4 separate regions of the Homo sapiens genome follow, and regions 2, 3 and 4 are each linked to region 1. Evidence: promoter capture Hi-C in human tissues and cell types (Jung and others, 2019). All regions are on one chromosome and are shown on one strand. The core of a region is centred on a gene start or on the middle of the fragment in contact, and the rest is flanking DNA. Distances in the headings are between cores, read along the strand shown. Region 1 holds the start of SKIL (SKI like proto-oncogene). Region 2 has its middle 110 kb from the start of RPL22L1. Region 3 overlaps SLC7A14-AS1 (SLC7A14 antisense RNA 1). Region 4 overlaps SLC7A14-AS1 (SLC7A14 antisense RNA 1).

Region 1 (3,431 bases), core at 676-3,175:
AGGGCCAATTTGAAACCAGTTTCTTTTATTTTTTTTTTTTTCTTTTTTTTACGGAGTCTCGCTCTGTCGCCCAGGCTGAAGTGCAGCGATCTCGGCATACTGCAACCTCCGCCTCCCGGGTTCAAGCAATTTTCCTGTCTCAGACTCCGGAGTAGCTGGGACTACAGGCACAAGCCACGACACCCGGCTAATTTTTTTGTATTTTTAGTAGAAACGGGGTTTCACCATATTAGTCAGGCTGGTCTTGAACTCCTGACCTCAGGTGATCCGCCCGCCCGGGCCTCCCAAAGTGCTGGAATTACAGGCGTGAGCCACCGCACCCGGCCGAAATCAGTTTCTTAATCTTAAACTGAGTTCAGTTTACCAAGGTGAAGCTTGAGTGATTTCTTTAAATCTAACACCAGTTTACTAGAAGAACATTCATTTAAATAGGAAAGCAATTTGGAGTTGCGTAAAGCGAGCAATAATATAACATAAAAGGCCTTTCGAGTTCAGAATATGAAGACTCTTAAGCAGATCATCTCAATTAGTAGTACCGGGGCTTTCTCAGCTATGCCATTTTAAGGGAGGGAAAAAAATCCATTACTTCATCTCCTATTTAAAAACAAAACAACAGTTTCATCCAAAAAAATCAGATAGGAGTTAACATATCTACCATATGTAACTAAGTTACAATTTTAAGTGGATTAATTCAGCTAGTCCGTGTACACTATTTTTCTGGAATGACTGCAGGCAAAAATTAACTTTCTCTTAAAAAAAGGTTAGCGATTTTACTTAATGGAAGCCAAAAGCTATAGACTCCACGCCTGGGAATCTCCATCCTTCAACAAGACTAATCCGGGACAAAAAGCACAAGGCAGACAAACCTCACAAAGAATGCAAATGGAGGAAGAGGGAAAAAGAAAAGACTCTTTTTCCACTTCCTTCTTGAGAGAAAAGCCAAAAGAAATCCAATAAATAGAAATTTTTGCTTCCCAAACTCTCAGCACTTTACCTTAAAACAGACCCAAAGGATTAAGGACCAATGCCACCAACCATCGTACAGACTTTCGTCCACCACAGGAACACACCTTACTCAACACAGGCCAAGGAAGAGAGCAAGAGGCATGACCTAGAATGGGGGAGCCCCTAAAACCCTGAAGTCCTCCGCCCACTCAAAGCCACCCACCTATCTCTAACCCGGAGAGAGGGAGAACAAGGGACACGGGAAGCCTGGGGGTGGGTGTGCAAGGGGGTGGAGGGAAGTAAAGGGAGGAGTCCCCCCACCCCCACCGGCGAGCCTGGGATAACCCCAAGTGCCCTCCCAACACCGCCCCCCCGCGGGGGCCGCGGGAAGGACTGTGGAAATCCACCCCCCCGCGCACCCTCTCCCTGGGAAGTTCTCGGGTGTCACCTCAGCGCCCCTAATGCTGCACCTCCCCGCGCCAGCCCCGGGCCAGAACGAAGAGGACACCAGGGCAGTTTAGGCGCCGGGCGCGGATCCCTGCGCCGCCGGGGGCTGACGGACCGGGTCGAGACCAGGGCATCCCCGCGGAGCGCTGCTGGACTGGGGGAGGGGGGCGGTGACGGGCGTCCGGGTCTCCGGGGTCCCCGCGGCTCCCGTCAACTACAGCGCCCTGCCCTGCCGGCGCCCACCGCCTGGGGCCAACGAAGCGTGATCAGCCGTGGAACACCCGCCTAGCGACCCCCTCTGGCCCCGACCCCACCCGGGACCCGCGCATCCAAACCCCCTACTCGGGCCTCGGTGCCCGGGTAAGCTCGACGAGCTTTGTGAATTCCCCACCGCCCCTGTCGCCGCCGTCGGGCTCCTAGGAGGGTGAGCGCCTCTGGCCTCCCGCCGCCTCCGCCGCGTCGCCGCCGTAAGCCGGAGCCGCACCTGTGCCCGCCGCCGCCGCCGTCGCCGCTCGCCCGCTCCCTTCGGCTGTGCCGGCGCGGCTCCGAACCCCACACACATCGCTACACACAGCCCTCTGACGTCACCGAGTCCTCGGCCCGCCCACGTCACTGCGGAGACACACAGCTTCCCGCAGACGCCGCCGCCGTCTCCGGCCGCCCGGGGGAGAGCGAGGGCGGCGGGGAGGGGGAGGGGAAGGGAACGGAGCCAGCGGCGGCGCCGCGCGCGCGGGCCCGCCGGCGTCGTCGCCGCCGCCGCCACTTCGCGGCTCCCGGCCCCCTCGTGGACGCGCGTGCCGTCTGGCCTATTGTGGCTCCTCAGAGCGCCCCCCTGGCCCCGTCGTCTCGCGCGCGTGCCCCTCCCCCCAGGCGCGCGCCCGGCGCTTCTGGCCCCGCGCGCCGTCTGGGAAGCTGGCGCGCGGCGCTGTCTGCGGTGCACCCGGCGCAGACAGGATGTTCCCTCCCCACCCCACCCTCACCGCCGCCCTCCCTCCTTCCTTCCTCTAGTCGCCCAGCCGGCTGTCTGGGGCCACCGCCCCGCCCCCGCCCCACCCGCCGCTCTGTGGTGATGGGCCAGACGCGGGGGCGCCCTGGCCGCTCGGACGCCGCGCAGCGGGGAAGAGGGGGCAGGGCAGCCGCGCGGTGCACTGTGCGCGACCCCAGCAGCCGGCAGGGCGGAGGCAGTGCCCGCCCGGCAGAGTGCCGCCGCCCGAGGTCAGGCACGGGCGACCCTCCCCCTGCGGGGCCGCAGCTGGGCCGCCCCGCCCCGGAGGCAGCCGGGCGGCGGCCGCCCTGCAGGGCCCCCGGGGCCGGCTCTGCTCCCCGCCCCCGCGGGACCTCCCTCCTGGGCTGCCCCTCGCCCCCGCGGGGCCTCCTGCCCGAGGGCCGCCCAGCCAGCTGCCGGCGCTCCGCCCCGCCCCGGCGGCCCCGGCCTCGCCCGGGCGGCCTCCACCCAGACGCCTTCCCCTGGCTGACCTCCATCCGCCATCGGGCCGGGCGGGAGGGGTGGCCAAAGTTCCGGCAAAACCGAGAGCAAACATTTCTGTCCCTACTCCCCAGCCTCCTGCCTCCACCCCACCAGGCTGCTCTCTCGGTTCCAGAAGGGAGCTATAAATTAAAGGTTTTTACAGTGTTTACTGAGGGTGTTTTTTTGTGTGTGTGTTTTTTTGGAGAGGGACGAGACGAGGTAGGGAAGATAGGACTCAAGAGCTTTCCGGCTGTGACCCTCTGAGGCGTGTAGGGTGGTCTTCCTGGTTCCCAGGGTAGCCGATTAGCATATTGAACTCTGCAGAGCTGCTCCGTCACATTTCGAAACACCAAGAAATCCCCTTTTCTCCACCCCACCACAAGATCAGGAACTGAAATAGTCCACCGAGTAGCAGTGCACAAAATTCAGGAGACTCGAGCTTTGTCCCTTTTTTCCCCCCCATTTTCGTCCAATTTCTTCTAGTTTTACTGCTTCGGGTTGTTCCTGTGGGGGCCCACATTTGCAGTCGGCCGGCTGGAAATACTCTTGTGCTCGTACTTTTTATTTTTTT
Region 2 (3,431 bases), core at 632-3,131, 400 kb before region 1:
AAAAAATTTCCTCTGTTCCTAAGAGCCTTCTGTTCTCCTGCTACCAGTCTCAGGAGTCGTTCCTCCCTCTTTGTTCTCTTCATCTGTGCCTCTTGCCCCCCACCACATAGCTCTACAAATACAATTTTCCTTTACCAACAGCTCCATGCTTTCACTGTGCCCCAGTTAATCATTCTAATTTCCTTTGGTGGTCTCATTACCTCCCAAATTAAGCTCCCCATTGCACCAATATTCAAGCTTAAAATGATTTGGAAATTAAGCCTGTTTTTCCACAAGGGCAAGATGCCTGTTGAAGTAACAGTGTGAGGTTGAATCTCTTTGATGAATGCCTTTTATTAACTGATTAGACTGGATTTTACTTCCTGCCTGAAGTCAGAGTCAAAGAATCTCTGAGTGTGTCTAACCATCTCTACTCTTCTACCTGATCTGAAAATAATGGCCTAACCCTAAAGTGTTCCCCTGTCTCCCTGCTATCTGTCTTGCTTCCCAGCTCCCTGGTAACTGGTTCAGCTTTGTGTGGTGGTGGTGAAAGTTACATTTCTATGGAGAAATGCAGCAGCACATAGCAGAGTGGCAGAGAAGCTCTATTTAGGCTTTGTTTCTTGACCACATCACTTGATTTTTAGGGAGATCCTATGATTGGTATTCTGAGCATTTTCTGAGTTGCCTCATCGCTGGGTCAATGGCTTTATCTACTAAAAGAAACAGAAAGGGAAATTGGTTCTGTCTCACTGAGCTTGCCAGAGTGGAATCTGGCCAAACTGCTAAACACCACTGAGCTTCATTCCTCACCTGTAAAATAGAGATAAATAATAAAACATACACTGTGTGAAGATTAAATAAGACAATGTATGTAAAGTAAATAGCGTGGTGACTGAGAGGTCAGCACAGTGCCGTGAATAAGAGCATGAACTGGAGCAAGACTGTCTTCCCCAAATTCTCCCTCAGTCTTTTGCTGTCTATGTAGTTTAGGGGCAAGCCAAACCACTTGTGCCTCATTTGCCAATCTGTAGAAAGGGCGATAATAAAATTTACCTTATAGGGTTGTTGTGAAGATGAAATGAATTAGTGAAAACTGCTGAGAACCATGCCTGGCACACAACCACAACAAACACTAAAAGTGCTTGCCAAAAAAAGTGTTTGCCATTATTATCAGAAAATACTGGTATTATTACAGCTATTAAAATAAGCTCTGGCCTTGAAAACATTGTCCTGAAAAGCTGATACAATCAAAATGAAGCAATAAAGGTTTAACCTTTGGTCATGCATAGACTAAGATGTTTTACTTACTTTTTCTTTTATTTGCCAAAAGGAAATAGAAAATTCAGAGGCGATGTTGACTTGGGGAGACCTTCTGAGGAAGGAAGAAATCCCAGGTGACCTGGTTCTCTTCACATTCCTCAGGAAGCCCGCTGGTTTCAGGAAGACCTGCACAAAGGGGAAACCTGACCTCATAATTGAACAAAGCTGATTTTTAAACATGGGAAGACAGGGCTAATGGGGTGGTTGTGAGGAGTATTAGTCCCCTTCAGGGAGAGAATTTAATATGACTGAGGTCACAGGAGACAATCTCCAATATACTCATTAGCAAATTAGTATTTTGTTTATCTTTAAAAAAAAGGGTGAGCCGGGCACGGTGGTTCACACCTGTAATCCCAGCGCTTTGGGAGGCCGAGGCGGACGGGTCACGAGGTCAAGAGATTGAGACTATTGTGGCCAACATGGTGAAACCCCGTCTGTACTAAAAATAAAAAAATTAGCCGGGCGTGGTGGCGCACACCTTTAGTCCCAGCTACTCAGGAGGCTGAGGCAGGAGAATCGCTTGAACCCGGGAGGCGGAGCTTGCAGTGAGCTGAGATCGCGCCGCTGCACTCCAGCCTGGGCAACAGAGCGGACTCCATCTCAAAAAAAAAAAAAAAAAAAAAGGTGGGGGTGGAGTCAGTTCAAAAGCATGGTGGGGAATTCTATGTTGAGGCAGTGCAGTATTTGGAGAAACTGCTGAGAAGATGTGAAAGACCACACATAACTATTTTATGCCCCTGTGAGATCCTTGCCAGAGCTTGATGGTGCCCATTAGTTCATTATTCCTTATGTTTTAAACTTTTGGTAGAACCTATAAGGATTATTATATGCCAGATGTATCAACTATGTTATAAACATGAACAATGAAAAGCTATTTTTTAAACCTATATGAATCTTGTGTAGCTTTTAAGAACATGTGTCCAAAAAATAAAGAATAAAAATAAAAACATGTCCAAAAGAACCATCATATAGAGTGGTCTGGTATAGACAGTGAATTAAGAGTCATCTGGGTTAAGTGCCTTTGGGAAAATCACTTCTCTGAATTTTAGTTTCTACTTCCCCTGCTTATTCCAGAGGGTTATTGTGGACACCAAATAAGGTGATGAATGTGAGAAAACACTTTTTAAATGCAAAACTCATGTTAGGAAAACATGTTATAAATGTAAATTTATAAAGGTGAGACTGGGAGAAGCAGGATAAAGAGAGGGAGAAAATCAGAAAGACGTCAGTGAGCAAAAAAGGAGGAGGAAACGTGAGGAAAAAAATCAATTTTCAAGATATTCAGGCATAAAAGAAGGCAGTTTGGAAGTGAAAATATACATGGTAAATGAACGACAATAGACAGAAGCTAAACATAAGTCACATATCTGTAAGACGGAATATTATGTGGATATGAAAAGTTATGCTTATGAAGTATTTGAATGGCATCAAAAACACTCAGCATGTTAACTAACAACAGATACAACATTGTATGTGTGAAGAAAATGCAGCCAATTGCATAAGAAAAGTATTAAAAGAGATTAGAAGGAAACATGGTAAAGCGGTTGCCTCTGAGTCGTAAGCAATTAAAGGAGGTTTCTATTCTTTCTGAAAAATTACCGTTTTCTTTAGTGAACATGAATCACTTTTCTATTTAAAAACTAAGCTGAACTAAATTAACAATAAAAGATAGGAGAAAAGCTAGATCAAGGAGATATATGAAGCAGAGTATCAGGAAACCTCCTGAAGCTTCTTTAGGCCTAAATATGGGATTTGTACCTGAAAGACCAAATATAAGTGCTTTGTTACCTCCACTTACGAGCGGTTCATTGTATACACATTGTATACACATGTACATTGTATACACAGTTCAATTATACACTGCTCATGTAGTACAAGGAACTATTTATTTTATTTTATTATTTTTCACACATTTTATTTTTTTCATGTATTTTTTTAAATTTTAATTTATTTCAATCGTTTTTGGGGAACAGTCGGTTTTTGGTTACATGGGTAAGTTCTCTAGTGGTGATTTCTGTCTGAGATTTTGGTGCACTTGTCCCCGAGCAGTGTACACTGTACCCAATGTGTAGTCTTTTGTCCCTCACCCCCGCATCCTTCCACTTGAGTCCCCAAAGTCCGTTCTTAAT
Region 3 (3,431 bases), core at 489-2,988, 370 kb before region 1:
CCATACTGGCAACACATCAAGATCATTTAAGTAATGATACTAAGTGCATCAATGATTTATTATGGAGCAAGAAATTTCCCAGCACTGCTCTTTTAAGTATAAGGCATGTCATGATGATATTGAGCTCCTGCAACGTGCTAGACTCTATTCAATATCATACAACATTCTTGTATCTGTTCTTATCTTTTTTTGTCTCTTTTTCTTGTTTAAACAAATACAATTAAAGGGATAGTAGAATCAAGTGGCTCACTAAAGACCACAAAGCTGGTAAGGAGCAGAGACAAAAATCTAAGCCAGATTTGCTGACTGTAAGGTTCCCTGTCTTTCCACTGCATCACAGCTCTGCTCCTGTGGCCTACCCTCTCTGCTCCCCTCCTACTGTGTGGCCATAAACAAGAGCTTCACACAGAATGCCAAATGAGAGATGATGCTGCAGGGAAAATGAAGGAAAAGAAACAGCACTTCTTAAAGCAGCTATCATTGGCAAGGGAAGCAGTGTTCCTGTGAAAACATGGTATCCAAAATGCTTTTATTGGTGGGAAGGTAGGAATCTCACACACAGACACACACACACAATGGGTAGGGTCTATATTGCAGAACCAAGAGGATAATCTTCACGACTGTTGTGACTGAAGAAGAGTGCTAACAGATTTCTCCACATGGTTTGCTGCATATGCCTGCTATAGAAAAGACTTATAATTTCACACTAAGGGTAAGCTTGATGGTGAATATGTACATTTTTAGTAATTCGATTGAGTTTATTAAACATGTATTATGGTCAAGACTCTGACCCCAAAGAGGCTGGAGAGGGGCCCCAGGAAAAGGAATCCCTAGTCTCTGCCCTTCATAGCTTTTTTTTTTTTTTTTTAAGATGGAGACTTGTTCTGTCGCCCAGGCTGGAATGCAGTGGTGCAATTTCAGCTTGCTGCAACCTCCAGCTCCTGGGTTTAAGCAATTCTCCTGTCTCAGCCTCCAGAGTAGCTGGGATTATGGGCCCCTGCCACAGTCACCACCCGGCTAATTGTTTTGTATTTTTAGTGATATGGGGTTTCACCATGTTCACCAGGCTGGTTTTGAACTCCTGACCTCAAGTGATCCACCCGCCTTGGCCTCCCAACCTTCAGTAGCTTTTTATCCAGACTTACCAATAAAGAACTTACCAAGGAAGTTACCAGACTGACCAAGTAAGATTGAATTAGAGCTGGATGTACAGCCAGTCTGCCCCATTTGCTCCAAAGGAGGAGTGCTTAATTTCAACTGGAGAGTTGGGAAAGGCTTTATAAAGTAGGCAGAATGTGAACTGGACCTTGCAGGCAGAGAGCCACTCTGTTTGGCAGAAAATGAAGGGAATTTCATTTCCAGCATAGGAAACAGACATGAAAGTGTGGCATCATGTGTTTAGGGAGAAAGGAGACCATTCAATGTGGCCAGAGCACAGACAAGATAAGGAATGGTGGGAGACGAGGCCAGCTGTGTTTTACGCTAAGATAAGGAGTGTGCTGTAGATTTTTATTATGCTTCCCAGTGCTTCACTTTTCCTTCCTGTGAGAGAATTACACATCTCCAGTCATTGCCATTGGACTGTTAGTGCCCACCATGAGAGGAGTACACATTTCTGCCCCACTGACATGGGACTCACTCATGTGACCTGTGAACAGATGCCTTCAGGCCACTCCCTGTTGACAACAGCTCTCTAGCTTTTTTCCCTTTGCCACCAGAATGGCTTATTCCATAGAGGAGCTGCTCCTCCAGCTGAGTTCTGGAATGAATGTTATCCATGGAGCAGCCCCACAGTTGACCCCACAATGACCTATAACTAACATGTAACGTGATAAAAAGTAAACCTTTGTTGTAAGTAACCGAAATTTTAGGGTTGTTTGTTGCCCCCAGCAAAGTTGACTAATAAATGTTTTTTACTTTATTATCAAAAGCAATGGATTTTGTAAAAAAAAAAAAAAAGAGAGAAGAAAAAAAAATTTTTTCCTTCTCTCCTTTCTGGCAGTCTCATGAATTTCAGTGCCGAACAAAACTTCATTTTAAATTTCCAACTGTGCTCAGATTCAATTGCTTTTTCCATATCAGGCATTCTGGAGGAATAGAATAACAATTAATTTATACTCACTTTTTGTAGCCACTGGATCAGATTCACCTGGAATTCATGTAAATCTAATAAATAGCACAGTGGGCGTCCAGTGCTTTGTAGCTGATGGCAGCAGATACATCACTTCCTTCCAATTGTTGAGGATATATAGCCAATTTGCCAGATAGGAATAAAGATTTCAATTTAAACACAAAGTTTATTTTTCAGAGATGGAATATTCCATTCAGGCTCAGCAAAGAAATAAGTAGACAGATGTTTCATGCTGAGGGGAACACCAGGGAAATGGCTTGGTCATGCTGGCCATGATGCTGAAAGCTCGTGCTGCCACCAATTTAAGTAAGTTCAAGGAGGCTTAACCTTCCTGGGGTTGATGAGAAAAAATTGAGAATACATTTTGTTATTATTTATATTATTTATGTATCACTGAGTTGAGCACTACCAAAGGTCACCATTCAGGTAGTATGGGAGGGAGCATGCCAGGTGGAGAGTACAGAGACTTAAATAGTATTAGGAATGGTGATGATAATGATGATAAGATATAAAAAGAGAAAGAAAATGGGCCTGGAGTCAGCTAAAACTCAATTACAAGAATGGCTTACAACTTACTAACTAAAGGTTTTATGGGAAAGCTGCTTTTAAAAAAATCTCTAAAACATAGTTTCCTCATTTCTCACATGGAAATAATAATACCTCTCTATTATAGTCATTATGAGGATAATATGAGATAATGAATGTAAAGTATTTGACATGTAGTAAGTGCTCAATAAATGTTGTTGGAGTTCTTTTTCTTCAGCTTTTTAACATCCTCCCTCACATGAATGCTTTTTCCTAACCCTGTTCAAAAGCCCATTCATCCTATAGTGCCTGGACTTACCAGCTCATCAAAGCCTTCTCTGACTCCAGTCTGTGATACTCTACCTTCTCTGAAACAGCAGTAATGGCCATAGGTGTTCATTATTTTGAATTCATTCACTCATTAATTCATTCATTCACCAAATATTTCCTGAGTACCTACTCTGTACCAGGCACTATTCAAGGTTCTGGAAATACAGCCGTGAACACAATATCCTTTCTCACCAAGCTTACGGTATAGTGAGGAGAGAGGGGAATAAACAAATAACAAGATGTAGCAAATCAAATAATGATTAAGTACGATGAAGAAAAATAAAATAGGGCAAGAAGAAAAGGGAGCGCCAGGGTGGGAGAGATAGGATTTCGTGTCAAGGCAGAGGGTCAAGAAAGGCCTCACTGAGGGGACACTGGAGTAGAAGGAGTGAGCCATGGGGAACCTGTGTGATAAAATCTCAGGGTAAAGGATCTAACCCATGCA
Region 4 (3,431 bases), core at 494-2,993, 340 kb before region 1:
CTGGTCACAAACTCCTGACCTCAGGTGATCCACCTGCCTCAGCCTCCCAAAGTGCTGGTATTACAGGCATGAACCACCATGGCCGGCCACATTTTTATACACCAAATAAACAGTATATAAAAGCATTTTTGAAATTATATGCCTCTGACAATTATCTGTGCAAATACTTTCATGCATATTAGGGTATTTATTTGTTTAATCAAGTCTAAATAACTTAAGGAATATGAAAATAGTTAAAACGCCAAAGAAGAAATGCTTAAGTGAGAAACAAATGGGCTAATGGACAAAATGAAACTAACACTATGAAGACAAAGAAGGACACATATCAGAAACAAGAAAGAGTGAAATGCCAAAAGACTAATGAAATAGAAGCATCTAATGAGATCCCTAACAAACCATAGTGAAGATAAAAGAATGTGATAGGAAATGTGTTGACTTTCTGTAAACTTTCACGTTGGCCTCACATCACACATGTCTCTTATTTCATCTGACACAACTGCACTTCTCAGAGGCAGACAAGGCAGTTCTCTATACATTTCACACTTTTACAGTCACCATCAACAAATTAAAGAAGCATATTTATTAAATAGAATATGCTATACCTTTAAAACCTATTTTTATTCATAGTTATGCGCTAACCTCAATAATTGAACCTCCTGTGATCCCAGCACTTTGGGAGGCCAAGGCAGTTGGATCACTTGAGGCCTGGAGTTTGAGACCAGCCTGGCCAACATAGCAAAACCCCATCTCTACTAAAAAATACAAAAATTATCCAGGCGTGGTGGTGCATGCCTGTAATCCCAGCTACTCAGGAGGCTGAGGCAGAAGAATCACTTGAAACTGGGAGGCGGAGGTTGCAATGACCTGAGATCACACCACTGCAATCCAGCCTGTGTGACAGAGTAAGACTCCATCTCAAAAAAACAAAGCAAACAAAAAAAAGAACCCATTTAATATAATGGCTAAGAAAACAGATTGTACAACATTATGTTTAAGTGACAAATATAAGTAAATAATTACAATTTAATGATATTTTTATTAATACATTTAAAATCCTTTGGTTCAGGTTACTCCAAAGAAAATGTGATAATTTTCAAGTAAACCATAACAGTTCTTTTTAAATTCTCTCCTAATTCCCATTCCTTCTCTTCAGAGGCAACCACTGTTAGGTACTTAATTCATTATGTAATTAGGCGTATGTACTTCCAGTCTTTTTCTATGCATTTTAATATGGATTGGCTGTGTCCCCACCCAGATCTCATCTTGAATTGTAGTTCCCATAATCCCTACGTGTCGTGGGAGGGACTCAGTGGGAGGTAATTGAATCATGAGTGTGGTTTCCCCCATGCTATTCTCGTGATAGTGAGTAAGTAAGTTCTCATGAGATCTGATGGTTTTATAACGGGCTTGCACCTTTATTCTCTCATTCTCTCTCCTGCCACCATGTGAAAAAGGACTTGTTTGTTTCCCCTTCCACCATGATTGTAAGTTTCCTGAGGCCTTTCCAGCCATACTGAAATGTGAGTCAATTAATCCTCTTTCCCTTATAAATTACCCAGTCTCAGGCATGTCTTTATTAGCAGAGTGAGAACAGACTAATACATATTTACACACCTATGAGTATATATACACTTGTGGTGGGCAGAATAAAAACCTCCCAAAGATGTCTACATGCTATGCCCTGGAATTGTGAATATAGTAGATTATATAGCACAGGGCAGTTAAAGTGGCTAATCAGCTGACTTTAGAGAGAGACATGAACCTGGATTATCTGTGTGAGCCCAGTGCAGTCACGGGAGTTCTTAAATGTGTAAGAGGGAGGGAGGAGAACCAATGTCAGAGTGACGCAATGTGAGAAAGACTTGAGTGGCTGTTGCTGGCTTTAAAGATGGAGGAAAGGGCCAGGAGCTAAGGAATACAGACAGCCTCTAGAAGCTGGAAAAGATAAGAAAACAATTTTTCCCCCGCAGCCTCCAGAAAGCAATAAAACCATGCCAGCATTTTAATTTTAGCCTAGTGAGACTTACTTAGGACTTCTGGCCTAAGATACTGACAGTGGGAATTGCTTAATAAATGGCCTACCCAGTTTATCCAACAGTGATGTTCGGAATAAATAAGCTCTATGCAGATACACAGTTTCTAATCAGCTCTTTTCTCCATTTATAATCATGAGCAAATAGACAAAGATCCACAGATATCTGAAGAAAGCCTTATACATGAAAAATAGAAAACAATGTTTTAAAAAAGCTTGGAGTAGTCAAATCTGTTAGTCTTCTCCTGTAGGGCTTCTGGATTTTTGTGAATTGATAAGCAAAACCTGCCCTCTTTTTCCATCAAGATACTAAGGTTGTTTTCTATATTTTCTTTCAGTTCTTATAATGTTTTAGGTTTTCATTTTTAGCCCTTGCTTTATAACCCTTTTACCCATAATAAGCCTGGGCTGATGGTCTCAGCCTTCTATAGTATATACAGATTATCAGTGCCTTTATATCATGATCTCTCCCATCCTGAGGGGTTCTAGCCCTCAAGGTTTTGTGATAAGGAGTGAGTAATAATTACAAAACTAATTTGTAAAAATAAAGTTTAAAAAATTATAAAGCACTACTCAAATATAAAGTTTTAGAATGCTGATGATGATGATTACCAATATTTCCCACAGCTCTATTCTTTGCCAATTATTTGCAGGCACTTCTTTCTCATCATCTCATCTCTGTATTTCTGACTTCCCTTTTGTTTCTGCCTCATCGGTCATGTCCCCAGAATTCCCAATAAGGAATTCTATATCACCTGGGAAGATGGACTCTGCATCACCAGAAACAGGCCTGAGCAGCACAAAAATCTCGGAGTTCTCATAATGTCTCTAGCATCACCATTTAGAGCAACCTGGATAAAGGCAATTGCTTCACACAGACAAAAGCAAATCATCCTCTGGGCCCCACCTGCTGGGGTTTATTTACCAGGCTGGTATTCCAAACAGAAGCTCCACTCACTTTATCTCTTATTCAGGCTTCAGAGGGTGCCAGACACAGGTGGCAGACACATACCCTACACCATGGCTGAAGTCCTGAGTAAGCTTGTTAATAAAAGTTTCTCCAGCTTCATCTAACAACAGGGGTGTGTTGAATAAAACTCTCAGTCAACTGTTGGCTCTGCCTCCTTGAAAGGAAAGCAGTGAGACAGGAAAGGCATCCAACCGAGATAAAAGCTAAGCTAACAAATGATAGCATTTCTAAAACAAATCATTGGACTTGAATGCCCTGGAATGAAATAGAAGAGGAGGGAGTGTCAGAGAAGAGCACAGGACGAACCCAACCTTTTGGTCAACAGAAGGCAGGGGGCTGACAGAAGACCTTGATATAAGACGTGGGTCTTTCTGACAGTTTTCCCAAGATGCTGCCCGGCCTGTATTATGCTACTCTTCCTGTTTGCCC

Evidence for each region. The method cuts DNA at HindIII sites, captures the fragments that hold promoters and counts their contacts. A contact is called where the count stands out against the background at its distance.
Region 2: a contact is called between a fragment that was not itself captured here and the fragment with the promoter of SKIL in region 1, in 1 of the 25 tissues and cell types used here (aorta).
Region 3: a contact is called between a fragment that was not itself captured here and the fragment with the promoter of SKIL in region 1, in 1 of the 25 tissues and cell types used here (hippocampus).
Region 4: a contact is called between a fragment that was not itself captured here and the fragment with the promoter of SKIL in region 1, in 1 of the 25 tissues and cell types used here (hippocampus).

Annotation. Positions count from the first base shown.
Region 1 is chr3:170,356,209-170,359,639 of GRCh38, reverse strand. It overlaps SKIL (SKI like proto-oncogene), which reads right to left and starts at 1,925. Exons shown (of 7, transcript NM_005414.5): 1 at 1,877-1,925. RefSeq lists silencers at 1,343-1,412, 1,503-1,632, 1,683-1,912, 2,073-2,972 and an enhancer at 3,253-3,352. The HindIII fragment of the contact is 15,648 bases long and covers 1-3,431 here.
Region 2 is chr3:170,757,516-170,760,946 of GRCh38, reverse strand. No RefSeq gene overlaps it. Among named protein-coding and RNA genes, the nearest start is that of RPL22L1, 110 kb to the left of the region's middle. The HindIII fragment of the contact is 4,311 bases long and covers 1-3,431 here.
Region 3 is chr3:170,728,387-170,731,817 of GRCh38, reverse strand. It overlaps SLC7A14-AS1 (SLC7A14 antisense RNA 1), which reads right to left. Exons shown (of 6, transcript NR_135556.1): 5 at 2,123-2,462. All of the region lies in intron 1 of LOC124906302 (a long non-coding RNA gene), which reads left to right. Among named protein-coding and RNA genes, the nearest start is that of RPL22L1, 140 kb to the left of the region's middle. RefSeq lists a silencer at 1,324-1,618. The HindIII fragment of the contact is 5,722 bases long and covers 1-3,431 here.
Region 4 is chr3:170,697,860-170,701,290 of GRCh38, reverse strand. The region is part of intron 2 of SLC7A14-AS1 (SLC7A14 antisense RNA 1); the gene reads right to left. Among named protein-coding and RNA genes, the nearest start is that of SLC7A14, 110 kb to the right of the region's middle. The HindIII fragment of the contact is 3,977 bases long and covers 1-3,431 here.